Regions from separate parts of the Homo sapiens genome. Here regions 1 and 3 are each linked to region 2. Evidence: promoter capture Hi-C in human tissues and cell types (Jung and others, 2019). All regions are on one chromosome and are shown on one strand. Each heading gives the region's core, a stretch centred on a gene start or on the middle of the fragment in contact. The rest is flanking DNA. Distances are from core to core; before and after follow the strand shown.

Region 1 (2,820 bases), core at 317-2,816, 190 kb before region 2:
AGCCTTTCAATTCCTTGGTTAGATTTATTCCTAAGTATTTAATTCTTTTTTTTTTTTTTTTGAGACAAAGTCTCACTGTGTCACCCAGGCTAGAGTGCAGTGGCACGATCTCTACGCTTTGTAACCCCCACCTCCTGAGTTCAAGCAATTCTTATGCCTCAGCCACCCAAGTAGCTGGGACTACAGGTGCGCACCACCATACCCAGCTAACTTTTGTATTTTTAGTAGAGATGGGGTTTCACCATGTTGGCCAGGCTAGTCTCAAACTCCTGGCCTCAGGTGATCCGCCTGCCTCAGCCTCCCAAAGTGTTGGGATTATAGGCATGAGCCACCGCACCTTGCCCCATTTAATTCTTTTAGATGCTGATGAGATTCAACTTGCTTTCCTAACTTTTTTTTGGATTTTTCACTGCTGGTGTACAGAAATACAACTGATTTTTGTGTGTTGACTTTGTGAGGCCACAAGACCTTGCTGCATTTGTTTATTCACCCTAATAGATTTCTTGCGGATTTTTTAGAATTTTCTATATACAATATCATGTCATTTGTGATTAGAGGTAGTTTCCTCTCATCCTTTTCAATTTTTAAAATTTCTTTTTCTTATCTATTAACTCTGACTAGAACTTCTAGCACAATGTTGAGTAGAAGTGGTGAAAGCAGGCACCCTTGTCTTGTTCTGATTTTAAGGGAAAGCTTTCAGTCTTTCACCCTTGAGTACAATATTGGATGTGTTTTTATCATGTTTAGGTATTTTATCATGTTGAGGAATTTTCCCTATAATACTAGTTTTCTGAGAGTTGTTTTTTTTTTTTAATTATGGAAGGGTATAGGATTTTGTCAAATGCCTTTTCTGCATCAATTGACTTGATCATGTGGTTTTTCCCTTTTGTTATATTAATCTGATGTATTACATTTATAGTTTTATTTTGAGCCACCCTTAGGGTAAGGAGGCATGAATCAATGGAGCACAGAGGATGTTTTGAAGGTCTGTTATTAGATGTGTAAATGTTTATAACTGCTATGTATCTTGCAGTATCAATGTTTATTAATATGTAATGTATATATTTTTCTCTTATAATTTTTTAAAATGTAAAGTCTATTTTATCAGATATTAGTATAGCTACTCCAGCTCTCTTTTGATGGCTATTTGCATTACTGTCCTTTTCCATCGTTTTACTTTTAACCTATTTGTGTCACTGAGTCTAAAGTTAGTGTCATAGACAACATATAGTTGGATTATATTTTAAAAATCCAGTCTGCCAATCCTTGTTTTTTGATTGGAGAATTGAATCCATTTGTGTTTAAAGTAATATAAGGAGGACTTCCTTCTGATATTTTGCTATTTGTTTTCTACATACCTTATGACTTTTAGCTACCTCATTTCCTGTAATATTGCCTTCTTAGGTGTTTAGTAAAAAAATGATTTCTTGGAGTGAAACTTTTATTCCCCTCTAATTTCCTTTTGTGTATACTCTATAGCTATTTTCTTTGTGGTCATCATGGGAATTACATTTAACATCTTAGAGTTGTAACAATCTAATTAAGTTTATAAAAATTTAACTTTTAAGTTCACTGATTCTTCTGCTTGCTCAAATCCGTTTTTGAAACTTTCTAGTACATATTTTCTTTCAATTATCATACTTTTCAGCTTCAAGATTTCTTTTTGCTTCTCTTTTAAAATTTCTATTGATACTCTTATTTTGTTCATATATCATTTCTGCATATCTTTGTCTATGTCTTCCTTGAGTTCTTTGAATCCTTAAGACATTTTTTTTCGTTTTGTTTTTGTTTTTGTTTTTGTTTTTGTTTGAGACGGAATCTCTCTCTGTGCCAGGCTGAAGTGCAGTGTCGTGATCTCAGCTCACTGCAACCTCCGTCTCCTGGGTTCAAGTGATTCTCCTACCTCAGCCTCCCAAGTAGCTGGGACTACAGGTGTGCACCACCATGCCCAGCTAAAAGACAGTTGTTTTAAAGTCTTTGTCTAGTAAGTCTAATGTCTGAGCTTCATGTACATTTTGTGTCAACTTATTTTGTTCCCTTGAATGGGCCATAGTTTTCTATTTCTTTGTATGCCTTTTTGTTTGTTCATTCTGAAAACTGGATGTTCGAATCTTATGACGTGGAAACTCTGGAAAACAGATTCTCCCTCTTACCCAGTGTTTGCTGTCTTTTGATTGTTGTATGGTGTATTTGTGCCAGGGATCAGCTTGAGGTGAAAGCTTAATGTCTTCTCATGTCTTTTCTGAGCCTGTGTCTTTCCCTAGGCATGCAAAGTGGCATTCTAAATTTCCCCATATACATGCTTGTTTTTGAATGTCCAAAGACAGACAGACAAACAAACAAACAGGTATAGTTCCTTTAAATCTCCTGGAAGCTGCTTCAGCTGGGAGGAATTCATACAATGACATCCAAACTCTTTACTCACTAATCAGTGATCAAACAGCAATCCCGTGAGAACACGGAACCCCACTATTTGAAGGACAAGGTCATTATTGCCTGTCATGGCTCCAGCAAGATGTGCCAGAGATATGGGCTGCCATTCCCCAGCTGCCTGCCACCACACTGATAGCTGATATCAACTGAAATTTACCAGCTAAGCTGGTCCCTGGAAGTTTCAAGTATTCAAATAAACTGAGTTCCAAAATGGTTACTTGAGACTGTTTCTGCCAGTACAATTGTTGTCCAGGTGGACAGATAGATTCCTGATAGCTTCCAATTCTGCCATCTTTCCAGCAGCACTACCCTGCAGACTATATTATAACAAAGAGCAGGAGAGTTAATATAGCCTTGGGGTAAAAGAGAGGCTGTACTATTGTCCTT
Region 2 (2,700 bases), core at 65-2,564:
TAGGGTTTTATATATAGAGGGAGTATGGGAGCCCCCAAAAGGGACATTTGCTTAGTTTTATGTGTAAATATCGGGCTGGAGGGTGAGGTAAGGGTGTTATTTCAGAGGTATCAGGAAAAATTCCTTAAAGATGAGAACTGAGCTGAGTTTTGGGAGACAGAGGAAATTAGGTAAAAGTGGAGTTGGGGGTTGCTTAGGAGTTCCCATATCTTGTGGCGGAACTTCAAGCAGTTTCGGAGTGCCAAGACAACAGCCTGTAAATGTAAGCAGAAGAAAGATCTGGAAGGGCTTTCTAGGCTGTTTTATATATTTCCATTTTAGTATCCATATCCATATGCTTATTTTAAACACTTGTCCATAGATCCTTACTACACTGGTAGCTCATTGATGCTAAGGACTGCATGTAGCTTGTTATCCAGGTGCCCAGCATAATAATGGGGATATGGTAGTTCCTCAAAAGTTAATGCAGAAATGAAAGAACAAACGGAAGAATAACAAGTAACGGCATTGTGAGCACTCTCCAGTGATGAAGTCATCAGATGGTAGGGATGTCAGGAAAGGGGACTATACCAGGTTAGACAGAGACCTACTCAGCATCTTAACTAACGGTGAGGTAAGTTTAGTAAGCCTCACATCTCAGAAATAAAATCAGAGGGAGGAATGTTGGGAGTTTCAAACTGCTTTCCTAGCGGGAAGGTGAAAAAACACAAAATATAGTGGGGTGCGGTGCCTCATGCCTGTAATCCCATTTTGCTGAGGTGAGAGGATTGCTTGAGGCCGAGTACGAAACCAGCCTGGGCAACATAGCGAGACCCCCGTCTCTACAAAAGAAAAAATGTGAAATTAATGGCAAGCGCCTGTAGTTCCAGCTACTGGGATGAGGAGGGAGGATCGCTGGAGGCTGCAGTGAGCTACGATCGCTCTAGCCTGGGCGACAGGATGAGACCTTGTCTCAAATAGAGATAGACAGACAGACAGACTTCAGAATTTATTAGGGTTTGTAATTTCCAGGTTCCAAAGCACAGCAAGGGAAAGGGCCTGGCTGGGTAGTACGTTACACCCGGAAGTAAAGAGACGCATACACCGTTGGGTGCACTTTATAGTCTGGCTGGCAAACGAGCGACACCGACGCGCAGAGTTAAGTGCTGGGACTTCCCAAGCCTGGAAAGCAGACCGTGTCTCTGCAACTACGCGGCTGCCACGAGCGCTGAGCGGCCGGGCATTTGGCCTCGAGGAGGAGGCACTGTAAGGGCGGCGCAAGAGGGCGGAACGCGGGACGCCAGGCACCCTAGCTCCCGACGGACGCAGTTTTCAGTTGCACGGGCGAGCTCCGGGCCGGCTGCGGAGCGACTCCCCGCCGCCAAGTGGGCGGCGTGGCTGTCGGGAAAGAAGGGCTGGGGCCTGCCGTTCTTCCTCCCGAGTATCCCCTCCAGCTGGACGACCCCACGCTGCAGCACGGGCTTCCGGCTTCTCTCCTCAGTGGCCAATTCGAGGGCACAGCGGGCTCCGGAGGCGCGGCGGCAAGCCTATCCCGCCTCCCAACCACAGCCTCCAGCACCCGAGAGAACGGCCGCCCACAGCACACGTTCTCCGGACAGGAGGGCGAAGGCCCAAGACCTGGAGAGGTGGGCTCGAGGGAAAGATCTGGGTCCCACCACTACTTCCTGGAGACGCCGGGGAAAGCAGGCCATCCTTCGAGCCACCCATCTCTTCTCCGATTGGTTAACTGCCTTCTTATTGCGCTCCGCTGGCTGGTGATTGGTTGGGATGCACCGTCTATCACCTGCTTCCTTGTGAGAATCTAGGTCTCTAAGGGAAGCGTTACTTGAGGCTCGGTTGGGAAGAGGTTGGTTGGGCCTCTTGAGCCCACTTTATTTATCGTAGTGGGGATCGTCCCCCGGCGCGAGCTTCCGTCGCAACGGCCGGGAAAGAAACCAGTAGCGGGACGGAGGGCGGGGGTGGCAAGAAAGTCAAGGTTTAGAAGTAAGCCGGAGACGCCTAACCCTGGTAACATCCGAATGGGAACGGGATAGGAAGGAAGGCCTTTGAGAGAGGAGGCGTAAACCCAGGAACAGTGACAGTGTAGGACGAAAGGCCTAAGTTTGTTGCGGAAGGTAGGGGCCTTGCGGGAGGTTTTCGTGACCTAATTGTATGGGGATCTAATTTTCTAGATGTGTCTAACAAAATCCACTGGAGAATTTGCTTTGGCTTTGCAGCAGAGTGGGGAGACTACCACCCGTTCCTGGCCTTTAAAGAAACAGTTTATTGAATTATTCAACTCTCTTTTATTGCTTCAGATGGGCAGCTCTCAAAAAAGGCACAAACAATTGAAGGATGGATACCATGGCATATGTTAAAAGCGTGTTGAAAGGAAAATAAGGTATTCGCTTTGTTTTCATTGTGATTAACTGTATAAGAAAATTACCTTTAAGGAGAAGCTCAAGTTTTAAATAATATTAGGGTAACTTGATTTTATGATAGGCTTCAACTTGTAAAATTATTTATTACAAAAATCCTATTATTGCTGTACCTACGAAATATGCTCTTTGCTAATTATGGTCTTAATCTGAAGATAGAGATCTTGAGTTTTTAGTAGTGTTAATTCATATTTGAGTGGATAATGTTACTAGGTCATTTGTTCAAAATGACATAATAAAATAACCACAGTGAAAAAAATCCTTGAATTTGTAATTTAGTGTT
Region 3 (2,700 bases), core at 166-2,665, 150 kb before region 2:
AGACAGGGTCTCACTCTGTCACCCCGGCTGGAGTGCAGTGGTGCGATCTTGGCTCACCACAACTTCAGCCTCCTGGGATCAACGATCCTCCCACTTCAGCCTCCTGAGTAGCTGAGACCACAGGCATGCATCACCACACCTGGCGAATTTCTGCATTTTTTTTTTTGTAGAGATGGCATTTCACCATGCTGTCCAGGCTGGTCTTGAACTCCTGGGCTCAAGCAATCCTTCCAAGCAATCCTCCCACCTCAGCCTCCCAAAGTGCTGGGATTACAGCCATGAGCTGCCGCCCCTGGCTGACTTTTACTAACTTTCAAGGAACAAATAATTCCTATATTATACAAACTATTCCAGAGACTAAAAGCGTCTTCTGAGGCTAATAAAATCATGATAACAAAACAGGATAAAGGTAATATACGAACAGAAGATTACTGACCAAACTTACTTGTGAAAATAGACAAAACAAAGTATTAGCAAGCGGAATCTACTAGTGAATGAAAAAAAAACATCATGACAGTGTGTTGGTTCCACTGCAAGGAGGGTTCAACATTAAAAACAAAAGAAAACAATATAAATGTAATTTACCACATTAATGGATTAAAGGAAATAACCATATGATCATCCCAGAAGACGCAGAAAAAGCAATATTATTGATTTAGAAACAAACAACTTAACCAGGCACAGAAGGGAACATCTTTTACCTTTAACTAAAACCCCAAAGTAAATATCATATCTAATAGTGAAACTTAAGAATTCTCCTTAAAGACAGAAATAAGTCACTTCTATTATATTTGCCACTGTATTAGTGAATAAGTCCTAACCATTACTATATGACAAGAAGAAAATGCATTTCATGGATTCCAATTTTTACTTTTCTTTTTAAATCTTAGAATTTCTGAAAGCAAGATGTGTCTCAGCCTCCGTGGTGTGATAGTAAATTGGCAGCATGTTTTCTTTCTTAGTGGTACATAAAATAATGGTGCAGCTTTCACCACGGTAAAAAGACATTATACTGTACAATGTGTTTAGGAAAGATTTTGAATATATCAGTCTCCCAGGTGGGAAGATATTGAGGAATTTTAAATAGGGGAATGACACGATGTGATTTGGTTTTTAGAGAGATCATTTTGTTTGTAGTTATTAGATCAAACAAACACAAGACAACAAGAGAGGAAGATCACTGGGGAGTTTCTGCAGTAATCCAAGTGGCCTGAATTAGAGTAGTGGTGACAGAAACGGTGAGCAGCAAGACCATGAGGCAATTATTGGAGTCCGAAAAATTCGACTGTGTAAAATGTGGGGTCTAGCTAGGGGTAGGGTAAACAGATATTAATGAAATGGACAAGGTGAACCTCTACAACTAGCAATCCCAATGACCATCTGGGCAATCCAAATCCATTTCCCAGCAGCAGAAAATTCTGAAATCTCCTTGTAAGATGGCAAATGATTTATTGGATTGATCCAGGGACACTGGGCTAATAAGTCCAGAATCCCTGCCAAATCTGCCCTTCCTTTCATGGATTCCTCTCCTTGAAAATAAGCACTACAGTTGACTCTTCTTTGAGAAAAAGATACCAGGCAGATGATAAGGACCAATTGCCAATTGTGCTTTATTCGAATTTGAATTCCAATAAGGTCTCACTATAGCTGGATCTGAGATGTTTTGAAGGAAGAGCTAACAAAAAAATCTACTTATTCATTCAGTAAGCTATTTATAGGCATCCAATATGCACCGTGTAACATTCTGGATAGTGATGATATAGCAGTAAACAAAACGGATAAAGCTCTTAATCCTCATGTACTTAATATTCACAGGGCAACTTGAAAAGTGAAATGTACTTAATGAACATTTATTATGTGCCAGTCTTCACATCAATCTCTACCCAAAGGAAAAAACAAATAGGTCTGGCCCCATTTTATAGCTGAGAAAAGTGACAGACAGGTTAATGCTTCCCATGGTAACACAATTAAGTGGTAGAACAAAGATTCAAACAAATCTCAGGTCCACTATAACAGGGGCTTAATTTTTCCTCTTTGGCCCATGCTGATTAAAAAAAAAAAATTATTCAAGGATAGATAACCCAAGATTTTCTATCGCTTCCTACCATGTGCAACCCTTTCTTATTTTTCTTCTTAATTTCTCCTTTTGTTGTTCTTTATTTTGCTCTGCCTTTTATTTTTGGATCTCCCTTAGCCCCTCTTCAGCATCAAGGTTCAGACATTTGTTTTTGTTTTTTGTTTGTTTGTTTTTCAGACATTTGATTTTACCATCTAGTGTTAACCAGAAGGGGGGAAAAAAGAGAAGACCAATCAAGGAAGAGAGGGCCCAAAGGATGAGTATTAGGAATTCCAAATTTCTGACTCTACCTTCAAGGATTATAGCTGTGTAACAACAAGTTTACTCTAATAAGACAGAAAGTTAGCCATGATGGAAATGTTCGACCAGTGTCAGCAGGGTTGTCTGCCCCGCATATTACCAAGAATTACTATGGCAGCTAAGAGACTGGAATAGTCTGTTGCTGCTAAGATGCCTTCCAACTTTAAGGCCTATTAGTCTGTGAAATTAGGGAAAACAAAAAATGATCTTATTTCAAATGGTTCAAGATGTTTACATAAACAGATGTTAAATGAATTTTTAAAAATTAGCAATCTATCTTCCCAACTTCTATGTTTTTATTAAATAGGCATCTTAAACTACAC

The links. Contacts are between HindIII fragments. The study calls those that stand out against the background at their distance.
Region 1: a contact is called between a fragment that was not itself captured here and the fragment with the promoter of RNF6 in region 2, in 3 of the 25 tissues and cell types used here (H1 embryonic stem cells, aorta and mesendoderm cells).
Region 3: a fragment that was not itself captured here is called in contact with the fragment with the promoter of RNF6 in region 2 in 2 of the 25 tissues and cell types used here (dorsolateral prefrontal cortex and liver).

Annotation. Positions count from the first base shown.
Region 1 is chr13:26,413,242-26,416,061 of GRCh38, reverse strand. No RefSeq gene overlaps it. Among named protein-coding and RNA genes, the nearest start is that of WASF3, 140 kb to the left of the region's middle. The HindIII fragment of the contact is 4,213 bases long and covers 1-2,820 here.
Region 2 is chr13:26,220,928-26,223,627 of GRCh38, reverse strand. RNF6 (ring finger protein 6) reads left to right here and starts at 1,314. Exons shown (of 5, transcript NM_005977.4): 1 at 1,314-1,625; 2 at 2,298-2,380. RefSeq lists enhancers at 1,254-1,633, 779-1,660, 1,661-2,542 and a silencer at 2,084-2,133. The HindIII fragment of the contact is 8,375 bases long and covers 1-2,700 here.
Region 3 is chr13:26,366,748-26,369,447 of GRCh38, reverse strand. The region is part of intron 4 of CDK8 (cyclin dependent kinase 8); the gene reads right to left. Among named protein-coding and RNA genes, the nearest start is that of CDK8, 110 kb to the right of the region's middle. The HindIII fragment of the contact is 5,412 bases long and covers 1-2,700 here.